Linked DNA regions of Homo sapiens: regions 2, 3 and 4 are each linked to region 1. The links are contacts of gene promoters, found by promoter capture Hi-C in human tissues and cell types (Jung and others, 2019). All regions are on one chromosome and are shown on one strand. The core of a region is centred on a gene start or on the middle of the fragment in contact, and the rest is flanking DNA. Distances in the headings are between cores, read along the strand shown. Region 1 holds the start of SMAD7 (SMAD family member 7). Region 2 overlaps DYM (dymeclin). Region 3 overlaps DYM (dymeclin). Region 4 overlaps DYM (dymeclin).

Region 1 (3,628 bases), core at 583-3,082:
TCCTAGAAACCGGAGCCCGGAGCTGAGAGGGCGGGAGGGAGCGCGCGGCCGCCGCTGAGGTCATATTCACGCCGCCTCCCCGCCCTCGGCGGCTGTTCCCCTCAGCGCACACTTCCCAGGGCCTCGGTCCAGTCCGGTATAAATGTCTTTTAAACCGAGACAGCGCTCTCCTCCCCTTGCCCTCGGGCGCGGCCAAGGGATCCACCGCCAGGGCCTTTAAAACAAAACCAATGAATGAAGCGCTAGGGCGAGCGCGCGCGAGATGGCCACCGCGAAACCCAGCCGGGTCGAAATCGGGCCACCGACCCGCTCGCTCAGCTCCAAAACTCGCGGCGAAGCCCGCTCGGTGCTCCCTGCTTTTCCAATTTCTCCATGGCTCCGGCCGGGGCTCAATCCATTCTGGGAGCTTCTCTGCCCCCCACCTATCTCTCTCCCCTCCATCGGTACCCCCTCTACAGACCCGGGAGGGGGTGGCGGTGGCGGGGGGTTGGGGGGAGAAATAGCTTTTAGAAACCCGATCTGTTGTTTGCGAAACACAATCGCTTTTTTTTTTTTTTTAAAGCGACAGGGTGTCTAGACGGCCACGTGACGAGGCCGGAGCCGGGCGCGCCACTGCGCAGTGGAACCAGCCGAGCAGAGGGCCGGAGGGGGGGTGCGGGGGGGCGGGGAGGAGGCGGCGCGGCTGCGGCGGCTGGGGGCGGGGGAGGGAAGGGGGAGGAAGGGGGAGGGAAGGGGGCGGGGGCGGGAGGCCTTGCGGGAGGCGGTGAGCCCCGGGCACACTCGCTTGCTGCTCGGCGCACGGAAGATCCTGTCCCCGAGCCGCGCCAGCCGAGCCAGCCGGGCGCCGTGCTCGGTCCGCTCGCCGCGCGGGAGAGAGCTGCCCGAGACAGAGCCAGTCCGTCGGCGCCGAGCCGCCGAGCGCCCGGCCCCTGAGCCCCTGAGTGCGGCGCGGCGAGCCCCTGGCGGCGGCAGAAGGACCGGAGCGCCAGGAGAGGGCGGACCGGGGACAAGGAGGCTCCCGGGCGCGACGAGGAGAGTCTCGGAGGAGGAGGCGCCGAGAGGACACCGGGGCCTCCTGCCGCCGCAGCTGGGTCGAGGCGAGCAGCCCATGCGGGGAGCCTCGGCGGCCAGCCGCGGCCAGGGGAAGGGACATCGGCGGCCCCTGCACTAGCAAGCAGCTTGTGCCCGGGGGGGGCGAGAACGCGCGACCCGTCTGGGGCCCTCCGCCGCCGCCGCGCCACCCTCCCCCGCGCTGTCAGCCCCGCCGGGCTCAGCCGCCGCCGCAGCATCTTCTGCCCCTGCGCCCGCGCCAGCCTCGAGGAAGTCCCCGCCGAGGACCTGGGCCCCCAGGAGCGCAGGGGGAAAGACCAGAGACTCCCCTAAACCACCCAGATGCGCAGGATTGAAGCGGTCTAGCCAAAGCTTTCTGTGGATTAAAAAAATACACGATTTTTTTTTTTTTTTTTGGCAGAAGAAAAGGAGAGGAAGACCAGCGGGGCTTTGCAAGGAAACGGGGGGATGTAACTCGTGGATACATTTTTCCACCCATCAAACATCTTGTTATACTTTGTAAACATTTTCTTTTTTTAAACCCCAGTTCCAGCCGGACGCCCCCAGACCTCTGAGGTTCGAGGAGGTGGTGGTTTTCATTTGGGGCTTTGCATATTTGGTTGTTAGGTTTTGCGAGAGCCTTCTTATTTTGCCAGACGTCTCATGCGGGGTGAAGTCCACTCGGCCCCCTCCCCTGAGTCTTCGTGTGCGCGGAATTCGAGGAGATCCGGTTACTAAGGATATAGAGGAAAAAAATAAATCGCTTGCTTTTTTTTTTTTAATTGCCTGCTTCTCCCCACCCCCAAATTAAGTTGCTTAGCAAGGGGGAAAGAGGCTTTTTCCTTCTTCCAACAGCCCAGCCGAACGCCTTTCGTTTTTTGCCCCCGCGGACCTTCCATGTAGGAAGCCGAGGCTGGCGAGCCCGACATTCGGGAGCCACTGCGGGGGGGCCTCTTTTTGGGGAGGCGCCGACGGGGGCAGGCTCGGCCGTCCCCAGGGAAGCGGCGGCCGGGTTCCTCCGGGGCGCGCCGGGGCCGGAGAGCCGCGCAGGGCGCGGGCCGCGCGGGGTGGGGCAGCCGGAGCGCAGGCCCCCGATCCCCGGCGGGCGCCCCCGGGCCCCCGCGCGCGCCCCGGCCTCCGGGAGACTGGCGCATGCCACGGAGCGCCCCTCGGGCCGCCGCCGCTCCTGCCCGGGCCCCTGCTGCTGCTGCTGTCGCCTGCGCCTGCTGCCCCAACTCGGCGCCCGACTTCTTCATGGTGTGCGGAGGTCATGTTCGCTCCTTAGCAGGCAAACGACTTTTCTCCTCGCCTCCTCGCCCCGCATGTTCAGGACCAAACGATCTGCGCTCGTCCGGCGTCTCTGGAGGAGCCGTGCGCCCGGCGGCGAGGACGAGGAGGAGGGCGCAGGGGGAGGTGGAGGAGGAGGCGAGCTGCGGGGAGAAGGGGCGACGGACAGCCGAGCGCATGGGGCCGGTGGCGGCGGCCCGGGCAGGGCTGGATGCTGCCTGGGCAAGGCGGTGCGAGGTGCCAAAGGTCACCACCATCCCCACCCGCCAGCCGCGGGCGCCGGCGCGGCCGGGGGCGCCGAGGCGGATCTGAAGGCGCTCACGCACTCGGTGCTCAAGAAACTGAAGGAGCGGCAGCTGGAGCTGCTGCTCCAGGCCGTGGAGTCCCGCGGCGGGACGCGCACCGCGTGCCTCCTGCTGCCCGGCCGCCTGGACTGCAGGCTGGGCCCGGGGGCGCCCGCCGGCGCGCAGCCTGCGCAGCCGCCCTCGTCCTACTCGCTCCCCCTCCTGCTGTGCAAAGTGTTCAGGTGGCCGGATCTCAGGCATTCCTCGGAAGTCAAGAGGCTGTGTTGCTGTGAATCTTACGGGAAGATCAACCCCGAGCTGGTGTGCTGCAACCCCCATCACCTTAGCCGACTCTGCGAACTAGGTGAGAAGTTGTCCCCCTACCCCCAACATTTTCCGGAGCGCCAGTGCTGGAAGAAAAGCCCCTAGGGCAGTGCGTTTGTGCAGCCATCCCTCCAGGGGGAGTGTGCATACCCTCCTGGGAGAGTGTGCATACCCTCCTGGGAGAGTGTGCATACCCTCCTGGGAAGAGACTGGGGGCTGAAAGTAGAGAAGGGACAAGGGGAAACTCAAAGGGCATTCCCTGGGGGTTCCCTTCCAGGTTTTCTCCTGTGTTGCCCCGAAGGGGTCTACGGGCACTGCTCCTGCAGTCTGCGGTTAAAAATTAGACGCCTTCATTTCCGGATCAACAAGGGGGTGCAGAGGGAGGTGGGGGGGTCACGCCTCCCCGCACCCGGAAAGACGTTGAGGTGTGTGGCCGAGTTGGATTTGGTCCAGGCCCGCCAAGGAAGGCTGGGAGAGGCGTGCTATAAAGGCTGGAAGGTCTCCGTATTTACTCCTTTAGTAAATACGGAGAATCACGTCGAACACCAGTGGCCCAGATACTGTCGTGGCCGCGCACCTTTGGAGTTTTGGGGCAAAGAGAGTTGGATGGAAGGCCGAACTGGGTATCTGTCTCCTTTCAACTCTGCCAGCCCCAGGGTGCAGAGGAACAAACAGGCAGGAGA
Region 2 (3,628 bases), core at 355-2,854, 210 kb before region 1:
TTCCTTTTCTTTCACAGAAGTTTTACTTAAGTACCTTTGCCAGTAACCACATAAAATTCTGTGTCCTGGACTAATGCTTTAAACCACTTGTTGGTAAAAGATGAAAAAGGAAAATGAGAAGGTCTTAATGCAGCAGTGGATTCCTAGATGTGTACTTTTTTTTTTTTTTTTTGAGACAGAGTCTCACGACGTGTACTTTCTACACCAAGACTGAATGTACTGTATTAGCAGAGTTTGAATAAGTACTTAAAAATAAGGACATGTTTTTCTTCTCACTGTAGTACATAGAGTACTTTCAGTCTACCTAGAGATTTCTAAGTTTATTAAGAAAATGTTTATCCTCATTATACTGTATAATTCACAAATCAGTTGAGTAACAACATAGAAAGCTAATCGCAAGTTCCAAAAACATTAGTATTAGTACTTTAGTGCAACTATGTTGGTCTGAACATCTCTAGGGAAACCTGAAACCTTCAACTGAGTTCCAGATAATGAGGAAACTGCCCTGGCTGTTTAAGGGGAAATAAAACAAAAATTGTACTCAAGCCTGTGGGGGGAGAGAATGCCACTACAGGGGCAGTAAGGGAGTTTAAGAAAGCAAATAAAGTTCCATTGACTTGGCTTTGCTTTGGTGTTTGTATGATCAGGATTACATACAATTTAATTCAGTGACTAACAGGGACAGGAGAGAATTGTTAAAGGAGAATCTTTCAACAGATTTTTTTTTAATAAAAATGAACTGAACTTTCAGAGAAGTTTGGTCATATATAACCAAATATGGAACCTGAATATAGAAAATGAAACAAAGATAATAAATCAGTTATGAATGCTTTTTAAGCTATAACCATATGAATATTTATAACCAATGAGGAATATTGTTACTGTACCATATAAGCTTTGTTTCCCTAGTTCCTAACAATTTAACTTTTATTCTAGTTGCAACCATAAGGAACCAAATTATATTGCCCTGTGGTCATCAAATAACTTTGAATCTTTCTGTAGGACTGACTCTACCACCTAACTCCAAAATGTAGAGATTGGGTCTCACTATATTGCCCAGGCTGCTCTTGAACTCCTGGCCTCAAGTGATTGTCCTGCCTTGTCTTCCCAAGGTGCTAGGATTACAGGCATGAGCCACTGTGCCCTACAGATAGCTTGCTTCTAAACTGTAACTTTCTAAAGAGTAAAAGCCATCCATATGAAATTTATTTTCATCAAGTCATGATCACTTATTATTATCATTCTATATGGAATTCTAAGATACCGTTAACTCTGGACTATATCACTGGCTGACCTTTTGACTTCATAGCTTTTATTAATAATCTTTTAGACCTTGTTTACAAACTTTTAAATCTGCTTTCAGACATTTAGTTTCTTCAGAAATGTATTATAGGATATTCTGATCTGATTTTCATATGACAAAATTTAAATTCAGAGATGTTTCTATTTTCCACCCCATCCTTTTTAGGTTGTTCTATTATTAAGATTCTGTGTGGTGTTTACTCTTTAACTTAGATCTCAAATTCATTTGACTCAATAGTTGATGGATAAATAATATTGAAAACTATCTTCAGTCAATTGTTTTGTACAATGTTTGTGCCTTTACTGAGCTAGTGTTAAAATGCCCCTTTGTACACACACGTACATAAATAATACAAAGATATACATACATATTGTTTGTATATAATGGTATTAGAGTATTCTTTTTTAAATTTTTATGGGTAGATAGTAGATGTATATATTTATAGGGTACATGAGATATTTTAATACCCACGTACAATGAGTAATATCAGGATGAATGGGGTAACCATTTATCCTTTCTTTGTGTTACAAACAATCCAATTATGCTCTTTTAGTTATTTCAAAATGTACAATAAATTATTGTTAGCTGTAATCACCCTGTTGTGCTATTATCAAATACTAGATCTTCTTGATTCTATCCAACTATATTTTTTTACTCCTTAATCATCCCCTCCCTGCCCCAACTACCCTTCGCAGCCTCTGGTAACCATCCTTCTTGTTAAGTGAAACAAGCCAGGCACAAACAAACAAACATCACACGTTCTTACTTATTTATGGGAGCTAAAAATTAATACAACTGAACTCATGAAGACAGAGAGTAGAATAATGGTATTAGTTCTTGATGGAAATGTCCCTTAAAGATTTTTCTGGAAGATTTAAAGGCTGGGGTAGGTAATTTAACACTTATATAACATGGGAACAGTTATCTTAGTAGGTATGCTGTCATATCCAAGAAGTTTGAAAAGCTGAAATTTGTTACTCTTAAAACAGCTCCTTTCACATGTTGTCACTTTTGACAATTGCTTTTGGGGGTCAACTTTTCATGCATTTATTCTAGTGATGATAACAGCAATCAGAATATTATTAAAACTTTTGTTTTACATTACTTTACCATGGTATAAGAGGTAAAAATGAAGAAGGCATAGTACCTACTTACAGGATAGTTAAAACAGATACACAACTAAAATACAATTCAACATATAACCAATTTTATAAAAGCTACAGAACCAAACTTGTGGGTTGTCAGAAGAGAAAGTGAGAGAGAAAAACTTTTAGGAAGAAGGGGAGGTACTGTGGCAGTCTTCATTGAAAGGAGTTGAAATTTGAGCTGGGTAATATTTTTCAAAGGAGAGATTCAGGCAGGAAAACATTCCAGGTGTTATGCTTCTTCAAAGAGGGCATGAAAGTGAAAAATGGTCTTGTGTCATTGTCACTGAGTTGTTTGTATCCAGCACAGTGTCTGGTGTATAATAGGTGTTCAGTAATTATTTGTCACCCCTCACTCATTCTATACACAAGAATTAACTCAAAATGGACCATAGACCTAAATGTCAGAGCCAACATTATACAACTTTTAGAATAAAATATGATTAAACCTTCATGACTTTGGGTTAGGCAAAGACTTCTTAGGTGATGCCAAAAACTCAAGTGACAAAAGAAAAATAGATAAATTAGACTTCATCAAAATTTAAAACTTTGTGTTTCAAAGGATGCAATTAAGAAAGCAAAAAGACAATCTACAGAATGGGAGAGGATATTTGCAAATAATCCATCTGATAAGGGACTAGTATCTATAATATGTGAAGAGATCAATAATAAAAAGATAATGGAATTTTAAAATGGGCAAATATTATATTTTGTGAACTGGTTCTGTGGCTTGTGACCTGTGTGGCCTTAAGTATGTCATTTTGCCTCACTGGGCCTCAATTACCTTTTCTGTACTATGATGGCCAGAACCAAAAAGACAAATAATAATGAGAATTGAACACCTGGGGTTCTTTTGAGGATTAAATGAATGAGGTAGGATCCTTGGCATGAAGCAAGTGCTTGATAAGGTTAGCTATTACAGTTATGCCATGCTGCCTATGTGTGGGAGAGACAGTCTGGGACCACAGGTGTTAGTTCAGAAGATGGAACTGTCTCTGAGCTCTTTAGTGCAGAAAGAGCTTCTGCAGGAGGAGGAGTGGTGTGATATTAGATGGAGAGGTAGAGATCACAACAGCCAGCAGTCACTAACTACAGGTGAGCAGCAACATCCGGAGGATTTTCTAATCTGTCTGGGAACATCTGGGTAGTTACTTGACATCACAGCGTGTACCTGAACCCC
Region 3 (3,628 bases), core at 354-2,853, 190 kb before region 1:
AAAATAGTAGATATGGAGAAGTTCCACTTTAGAGAAATATTCATAATTGAAAAAGAAATGATAGAATTAGAATATCACTATTTTGCAAACCCTAATTAGTAGATTCGAGCATTGAGCATTAGTGACTGCAAACTTACGTAAAGAGGGAACCATAGATTATGTTTCTCCTGATGTAGAACACACCACCATCTATGAAGTAGTCTTGCAAAAAAAAAACCCAAAAACTAATCAGACCAAGCCTCTAAATTTAGCTACCAATTTTCTGGGGAAACCCAGAACAGAGAAAAATTAAACATCACCAAAATCCAGGATGCAAGAATCTATATAGGACAAATAACCTGGTTTCTTCAACTAACAAATTGCAATAAGAAAGGAGAGAGAGAAAAACACATTAATGAAGACCAATTACACCATAGAGATTTTATTTGAATTCTCATTCTGCCTGTAAGAAACTTTTTTTAAAACCTAATTAGAAAGTTGAGCACTGGCTGGATATGTGGTAATTTTCAGGGATTACTATTAATTTTTTATGTGTGAAAATTGCATTGTGTATATTTTTTAAAGAATCTTTATATTTTAGAGATACTTAACCAATATATTTATGGTTGAAAGATTTGTTTGGACTTTGCTTCAGAATAACCCTGGAGAAGAGGAAATGAATGAGTATAAGGAAACAAGATTAGCCATGAGTTGATGGGCTGGGTGATAGGTACATGGAGGTTCATTATACTATCCTGTCTGTCTTTGTATATATTTGAAATTTCTCGATAAAGAAAGTTACAGAGGTTATACAGCGTATGAATATGCTTGGCGTCACTGAACTGTATACTCAACAGTGGTTACAATGGTAAATTTTATGTTTATTTCACCACAATTTTTTTAAGTTAAATAATATGAGTATTGGAATCAGAAAGAACTATATTTAACCTTTATGTGACCTTGACCTTACTTAACCTCTCTGATATTTGGTTTTCTCAACAGTTAAATAAGACCAATATCCGGCTTGCCAAATTTTATGAGAATTAAATTAAATACTGCATCGAAAGTACTTAGCAAAATATTTGGCATATAACAAGTACTGTGTAAATATTAGTGACCTTAATTACTACCACTACAGCTTCTACCACCTGAAAGATAGGAAGATATGCCCTTTATTCTCTTATCACCTAAAACCAAAGCTTATTACTGAGGAAGGCTGTTTAAAATTCTCTTTTCATTGCACTGTGGCATAAAGGAATAAACTTACACTGCAAGTCAGACAGACTTCACTCCCCATTTTAGGATTTACTAGCTATGCTGTGTTGGTTAGTAGTTACCTTAGAGAAGTTACTGTGCTCTCATGTATAAAGTGAGAATACTAGTATCTACTTTCCAGAATTGGATTGAATATTAATAATTATATGTGTAATGTTCTTGGCATAATGCCATGATCATAGTAGGTTTTCAGTAAATGATAGGTATGATCATATGATTGTATTCAAATATGATTATCATTGTTCAGGAATGGAAAGTAAGAAAAGGTCTTTTCCATATATTCTTCCTGAACGAAATTGATCTGAACATCAGAACAATCTTTCTGATTTAATTACGGGCTTTAGAATATATTATTAAATGGTATCTATTTTCTCAATTTTAAACATTTATAACTTTATTTAACTGGGGTTTTATCAATAGCACCTTATCATCTTTCCTATTAGGGGGATGATAAGTTGCTACTGTGTTGGTGATTGCAGCAGATTAAAAATAACTGGTAAGTGATGCCCAGGGTTAACCTATTCTTTGGTAAGTAACTTGAAAATTTTATACCAAAAAGGACTTGTTGTTTACCAGATGCAAATAGACAAAGTACTCTGCCTTTCCCTTTCTCTACTGGAGATTCAAGTCCAACAGAGATGAAGTCTGCATCTAACAGAAATGTTTTTAAAACAGACTCTGGAAATTTTTTGTCTGGAAAGAGACAAAAAAAGAATTGATTGTAGAAAATCTGTATTCTCAATACATGAGTAATGTAATAACATGCATCCTCTTTTTCAGAATGAAAGCAAACCCTTCAAATTCTCATTTCTTAAGTCATTGGTAAATCACTTCATATGTCCAAGCTTCAGTTTCCCCACCCAAGAGCAAAGACTCTAGATTAGAAATATCTGGATTTGAATCCTAGTTCTGTCTCTTAATAGCCATGTGACAGTGAGGAAGTTACTTAATCCTTTTGAGTTTCAATTCTACATCTGAAAATAAACACAACACTGTAATTAATTTGCTATAATTAATTATCTTTTAAATAGAGTAGATATAGTAGATGCAGAAGCAAAATATGGAATAAATACAAGGAAAACATCATCCATAAATATGTTTAAAACATATTGGCCAGGCGCGGTGGCTCACACCTGTAATCCCAGCACTTTGGGAGACCGAGGTGGGCGGATCACAAGGTCAGGAGATCGAGACCATCCTGGCAAACATGGTGAAACCCCTGTCTACTAAAGATACAAAAAAAAAAAAAAATTAGCCGGGCGTGGTGGTGGGCGCCTGTAGTCCCAGCTACTCAGGAGGCTGAGGCAGGAGAATGGCATGAACCCGGGGGGCAGAGCTTGCAGTGAGCGGAGATTGCGCCACTGCACTCCAGCCTGAGTGACAGAGTGAGACTCCATCTCAACAAAAAAAAGAAAACATATTTATTGATTTTATTCATGTCATATTTTGTCCCAGACATTGAGTCCATAGCGATGAATAGGCAGTCATGGACCTTGCCTCAAGAAGCTAGTGGAGGGAAAATAAACATCATTTAGCAATTAAAAATGGAGCTAAAATAACAGGGACATAATGCAAGAGAATCGCAAGAATCCTGTTTTAGATTTAGAGGCTTAGGATTCAGGGGTTTGCTCTCTGAGAAAGTGATATTTAACTGAGACCTGATGATGAATAAGAGTTGCCAGAGAAAAAATGAGGATAGAGTGTTTTTAACAGCATGTGTGAAGGCCTGAAGCAGGACGGAGCTCTGTTTATTCAAGAAACTGTTAGCAGGCCAGTATAGTTTGGAGTGTGGATAGTGGGGGAGAGTAGCATTAAATGAGTATGAAGGAATAGGTCATTGTAGGGCTATGTTCAAGGCCTGATGAGCCCATTTACGGTAAAGAGTTTGGAGGTTAGCCATAGTTCAGCATAAAGTCATTGAAGGATTTTGGGCACTAGAGTAACCTGGCCTGATGTACCTTTGAAAAAAGCACTGTGGAGAAGTGACTTAAAGGGCTAAGTGTTGAGGCTGGGAGTCCAGTTGTCAACATGCTGAGAGATTACAGTGGCTTGGAACTCAAGAGGAAAAGGCTAGGCTGCAGATGGAAACATAGGTGACATCAGCATAAATAAAATGTTCGGAGTCATGGCAATTGATGAATGAACAATGGGAAGGAAAGAGGGATAATCCAGAGCTCTGAGAGACCTCCAACCTTCAGAAGCTGGGTGGAAGAGAAAATGCTAACAAAAGGAATCAGAAAAACCACAAGAGCGTGGTGTCAGGTAGGTATGTCTTAAAGTGGAAGAAATAGTGAACAACTATACATGGAAGATTGAGGGTAAGATGAGGATTAAAACACATACATTGGATTTGGCAAAACAGAGGTGGTGTCTG
Region 4 (3,628 bases), core at 511-3,010, 160 kb before region 1:
CTGCTAATATACACCTGCAGTAAATGGGAGAGAAATAATCTCTAATTCCCAGTACCTTTCATTGTGATAGGCAATATTTTCTTTGTATTCCTGACAAAAGACTAAACCAGAGATTTTTTTTTTTCCCTGTGGTCATAGCTGCAGTAGCTGCAATATTACACATCATTTGGAGTATTTAGCTTTAACATTTTATTTAAACCACATCAAAAGCCATTTGCTTCTTTTCTAATCATCACTAGCTTTTATTGCATACTTGCTAAGCACTTACGTGCAATAACTTACTTAATCCTCATTAAAAAATAAACCATGAGGTATATTTCATTTTAGCCCTCAATTTACAGATAAAGAAACCAAGTTAGAAAGATTAATTAACTTGTTTACTGTCACACATTCAGCAAGTGATACAGCGAGAACTTAAACCCAGAGTTTGATGATAAGGCCTTTGTTTGTAATAATTCTGCCTAACCACTATACACATTCACTAAATGCTCCCACAGTTGCCTATGAAACCATCTGATCATATCCACAAACCTAATTACTTTCTCTTTCAAAATCAGTTCTAATAATGTCAAATCAGTCTTTATTCCATCAGTGGTGCAATGAGGAACGTTCTTAGTAACCAGGCAATTGATATCCTTAAAAATGTCTCTGAGAGCCAGGCGTGGTGGTACACTGTTATCCCAGCTGCTCAGGAGACTGAGTCAGGAGAATCTCTTGAGCCCAGAAATTCAAGACCATCTCTTAAACACACACACACACACACACGAAAGAAAAAGAAAAAAAAAGTCTCTGAAAGACCATATTAATTTTTTTTAATCAGGACACACAGAACCATGCAAAGAATTTAAACTACATCCATTTGAAACACATTCTCCTTTGGAAGAAGTGAAAAGCAGAGTGGAGGTGAGGAAGTAGAAAGGACCTCACTGTAAGTACACAGTATAGAACCATATAGAAGTAAAAGCAGGATGTTAAGTTGGACTTATACCCAGTGCTCACTTTTCTGTCATTGTCGGAATAATGGGCCACTTATTTACACTTCACCTGTATGCAGTGAAAACTGCATTCTCAGGCTAAACATTTGACTATATGCTGTTATGCAGTTCTTAAAACCACATAAACAAATGCCTAAACATTTTTAAGTACACCTTCTAAATGATGGGAATGAAGCTTGAGTGCCTCATGTATATGACCTCTTTTACCATTCTTAATCCATGTGAGCTAGGATTATTATCCCACTTTACAGATAAGAAAATAAAGATGCTGAGAGGTTTCTCAGATGCTATTAATATACATTCCTGCCTAAGGATCATTGTCTTGGATAGTTATCACATGTTATTGCAGGGGGCTTTATGTCATTGGCCCTTTCGCCATCCCTAGGAGGAAGGGAGAGCAGGGCTAGAGAAGGGAAATAGTAGGCTTGAGATCACTTAGCTAGCAAGTCAGTCAACCAGGCCCTGAATCCAGGTTCTCATTCTATTAAATCCCGTGTTTTCAGCATTCACTTGGATAAACCTAATTAAGATTCCAAATGAGCAGGTTTTCCAACAACTTTTTGTTGAATACTATCATCCAAAATAGTGCTGGGCACACTGGAAATTCATTTAAAAAACATTTTAAACTCCTTTTACATATTTTGAAAAGATGCTGTGATAAAGATATAAATAACATCTCTACTGTGTGCCTTTTTCAGTACTTTACCTTCCCCATCTATCCCCCAAAGATCCCTGAAATTTTGGCTTAAACAAGCTTTTGCTACTTTCTTCTTTCATAGAGTTAACCTTCAGAAGTTAACTCTGTGAAAGACTGTAGAAGAAAAAAGTTGGTGGAGGAGACGAATCTACTGTTATTTTTAGTGGGCAGGGAGTTGAGAGTTGATTATTTTTGGTTAAGACATTTAGCAGCACTCAGTATCTCAGAAGACAGAAGTGGCTAACCTTGGAGCACTTTTAACGTCTGCAGAAGGAATTAGATAGATGTTTTTCAAGTGCCTACATTTTTATTACACACTGGTGCCTATCTCGCCCATCTAAAACATAAGGTGATATGATCAGGCTGAATTAAGCAGCAAGACAAGGTAGAATATAACACCAAACAAGAGAGAACATAAAATAAATTGTCTGGTTACCTAAGAAATGGCTGAATATGAGTAGAGGACAGATGCAATGAACTATAACCATTGTATAGTAAGGTACAGGCAAGAAATCTTGTTATCTCTGGACATTAGATCTTGTGTATTTCCAGACCTGACCATCCTTATCAAGCTCTAAACTAGCACTTTAGGCTACTGACTTGACAGTCCCACAATTGTTAAACAAGGTTAAATCATAATTCTTGATTTTCTGCAAAAACCAATGCAATATAAAATATTTTCTTCTATAGTCTTTCTTATCCCAATATATGACATCAATATCTACCCAGTTGCTTAAGGAAAAAAAAAAGAGTAAGAAAGGAGAATAATGAGAGCTCGTTAGAATACCGGTAGGAGATTGCAGATTTAAAGAATGTAATCAGGTGCGTTTGAGCCAAAACTTGAAGCAGGTAGAGAGTGAGCTATGCAGCTATCTGGGGACAGAGCACTCTAGGCACAGAGAATAGTGGGTGGGACGGAGTTATGGGGAACTGGCTGGGAAGGTGGAGTGAACATTCTGTGATAATGAGGGGCAGATGGTTACAGGGTATGCATATTTGTCAAAACTGGTTGAACTGTACCATTAAAATGAGTATGTTTATTTTATTGTATGAAATTGTACCTCAGTAAATTTACTACTAAAAAATAAATTCCCTACAGTGGACTTCTGCTTAGGATATAGAAAGCTAGGAAGAGTTCTACCCTAACAAAGAGAAAAAGAGGTAAACTACAAAATCATAACTTTTCTTGAACCTATCAATGAGCTGAGGTCACAGGACAACCAAATAGTCTAGATCCCAAGGAGGGGTCATCGGCCCACCCACCCCTCAAGTTGAGGTGAGACACCAGGACTGGATCACCTGTGGCAGAGCACAGGGGTAGGTAGCCACCATACAAGTGGGTAAAAAGAAATCAGATGCAATTTTAATAACTTGCTAAAGGTTGAGTGTGGAGTAGCATGACATTACAGAACACCCAGGAGACCCAAGCACCAGAGGAATTTGCACTCACAGGCTGTTTTCCACTGAGACTGGGGGCACAGCAGGAAGCCAGAGAGCCTCCCAAGGTGATGTACCAATAGAAAAATGCGTAGCATCATTCCCCTGCCAGACCTTTCTTTCATATGGTGCAAAAGCCTTAGATTGCTGGCAGGGGTGGGGGTGCGGAGGGGAGGGGGGTGCGGAGAGGAGGCGGGTGCAGAGGCAGGCACCAAACCTTGTTGCCCTCGGGGCATAGGTAGAGACCCATTATTGCACGTAAAAGATAAAACAAAAAAACTCTCTACTTCTGGGTAAAGGGCAGGAAACTGTCGCAGCCCCAGGGTTCTATAAGAGTACCATTAGAGGTATCCTACCAACAACTCATCACAGATACAGGGCAAAGTCTGGCTGCCATCGGAAGAAAGGGAAGAGAAAGCTAAGAAAGCCTTATGCCCTAGGCCCAGGCATAGAGAGCCCCATTTAAGACTGAGGTCTTAGGACAGCACGTAGAGAATCC

The links. The method cuts DNA at HindIII sites, captures the fragments that hold promoters and counts their contacts. A contact is called where the count stands out against the background at its distance.
Region 2: a contact is called between a fragment that was not itself captured here and the fragment with the promoter of SMAD7 in region 1, in 2 of the 25 tissues and cell types used here (IMR-90 fibroblasts and lymphoblastoid cells).
Region 3: a fragment that was not itself captured here is called in contact with the fragment with the promoter of SMAD7 in region 1 in 1 of the 25 tissues and cell types used here (mesenchymal stem cells).
Region 4: a contact is called between a fragment that was not itself captured here and the fragment with the promoter of SMAD7 in region 1, in 1 of the 25 tissues and cell types used here (lymphoblastoid cells).

What each region holds. Positions count from the first base shown.
Region 1 is chr18:48,949,169-48,952,796 of GRCh38, reverse strand. It overlaps SMAD7 (SMAD family member 7), which reads left to right and starts at 1,832. Exons shown (of 4, transcript NM_005904.4): 1 at 1,832-2,985. The coding sequence starts at 2,373. RefSeq lists silencers at 1-88, 659-1,358, 2,575-2,894. The HindIII fragment of the contact is 10,376 bases long and covers 1-3,054 here.
Region 2 is chr18:49,157,121-49,160,748 of GRCh38, reverse strand. All of the region lies in intron 15 of DYM (dymeclin), which reads left to right. Among named protein-coding and RNA genes, the nearest start is that of MIR4744, 110 kb to the right of the region's middle. The HindIII fragment of the contact is 9,195 bases long and covers 1-3,628 here.
Region 3 is chr18:49,140,898-49,144,525 of GRCh38, reverse strand. The region is part of intron 15 of DYM (dymeclin); the gene reads left to right. Among named protein-coding and RNA genes, the nearest start is that of MIR4744, 93 kb to the right of the region's middle. The HindIII fragment of the contact is 3,239 bases long and covers 1-3,222 here.
Region 4 is chr18:49,111,808-49,115,435 of GRCh38, reverse strand. The region is part of intron 16 of DYM (dymeclin); the gene reads left to right. Among named protein-coding and RNA genes, the nearest start is that of MIR4744, 64 kb to the right of the region's middle. The HindIII fragment of the contact is 3,387 bases long and covers 67-3,453 here.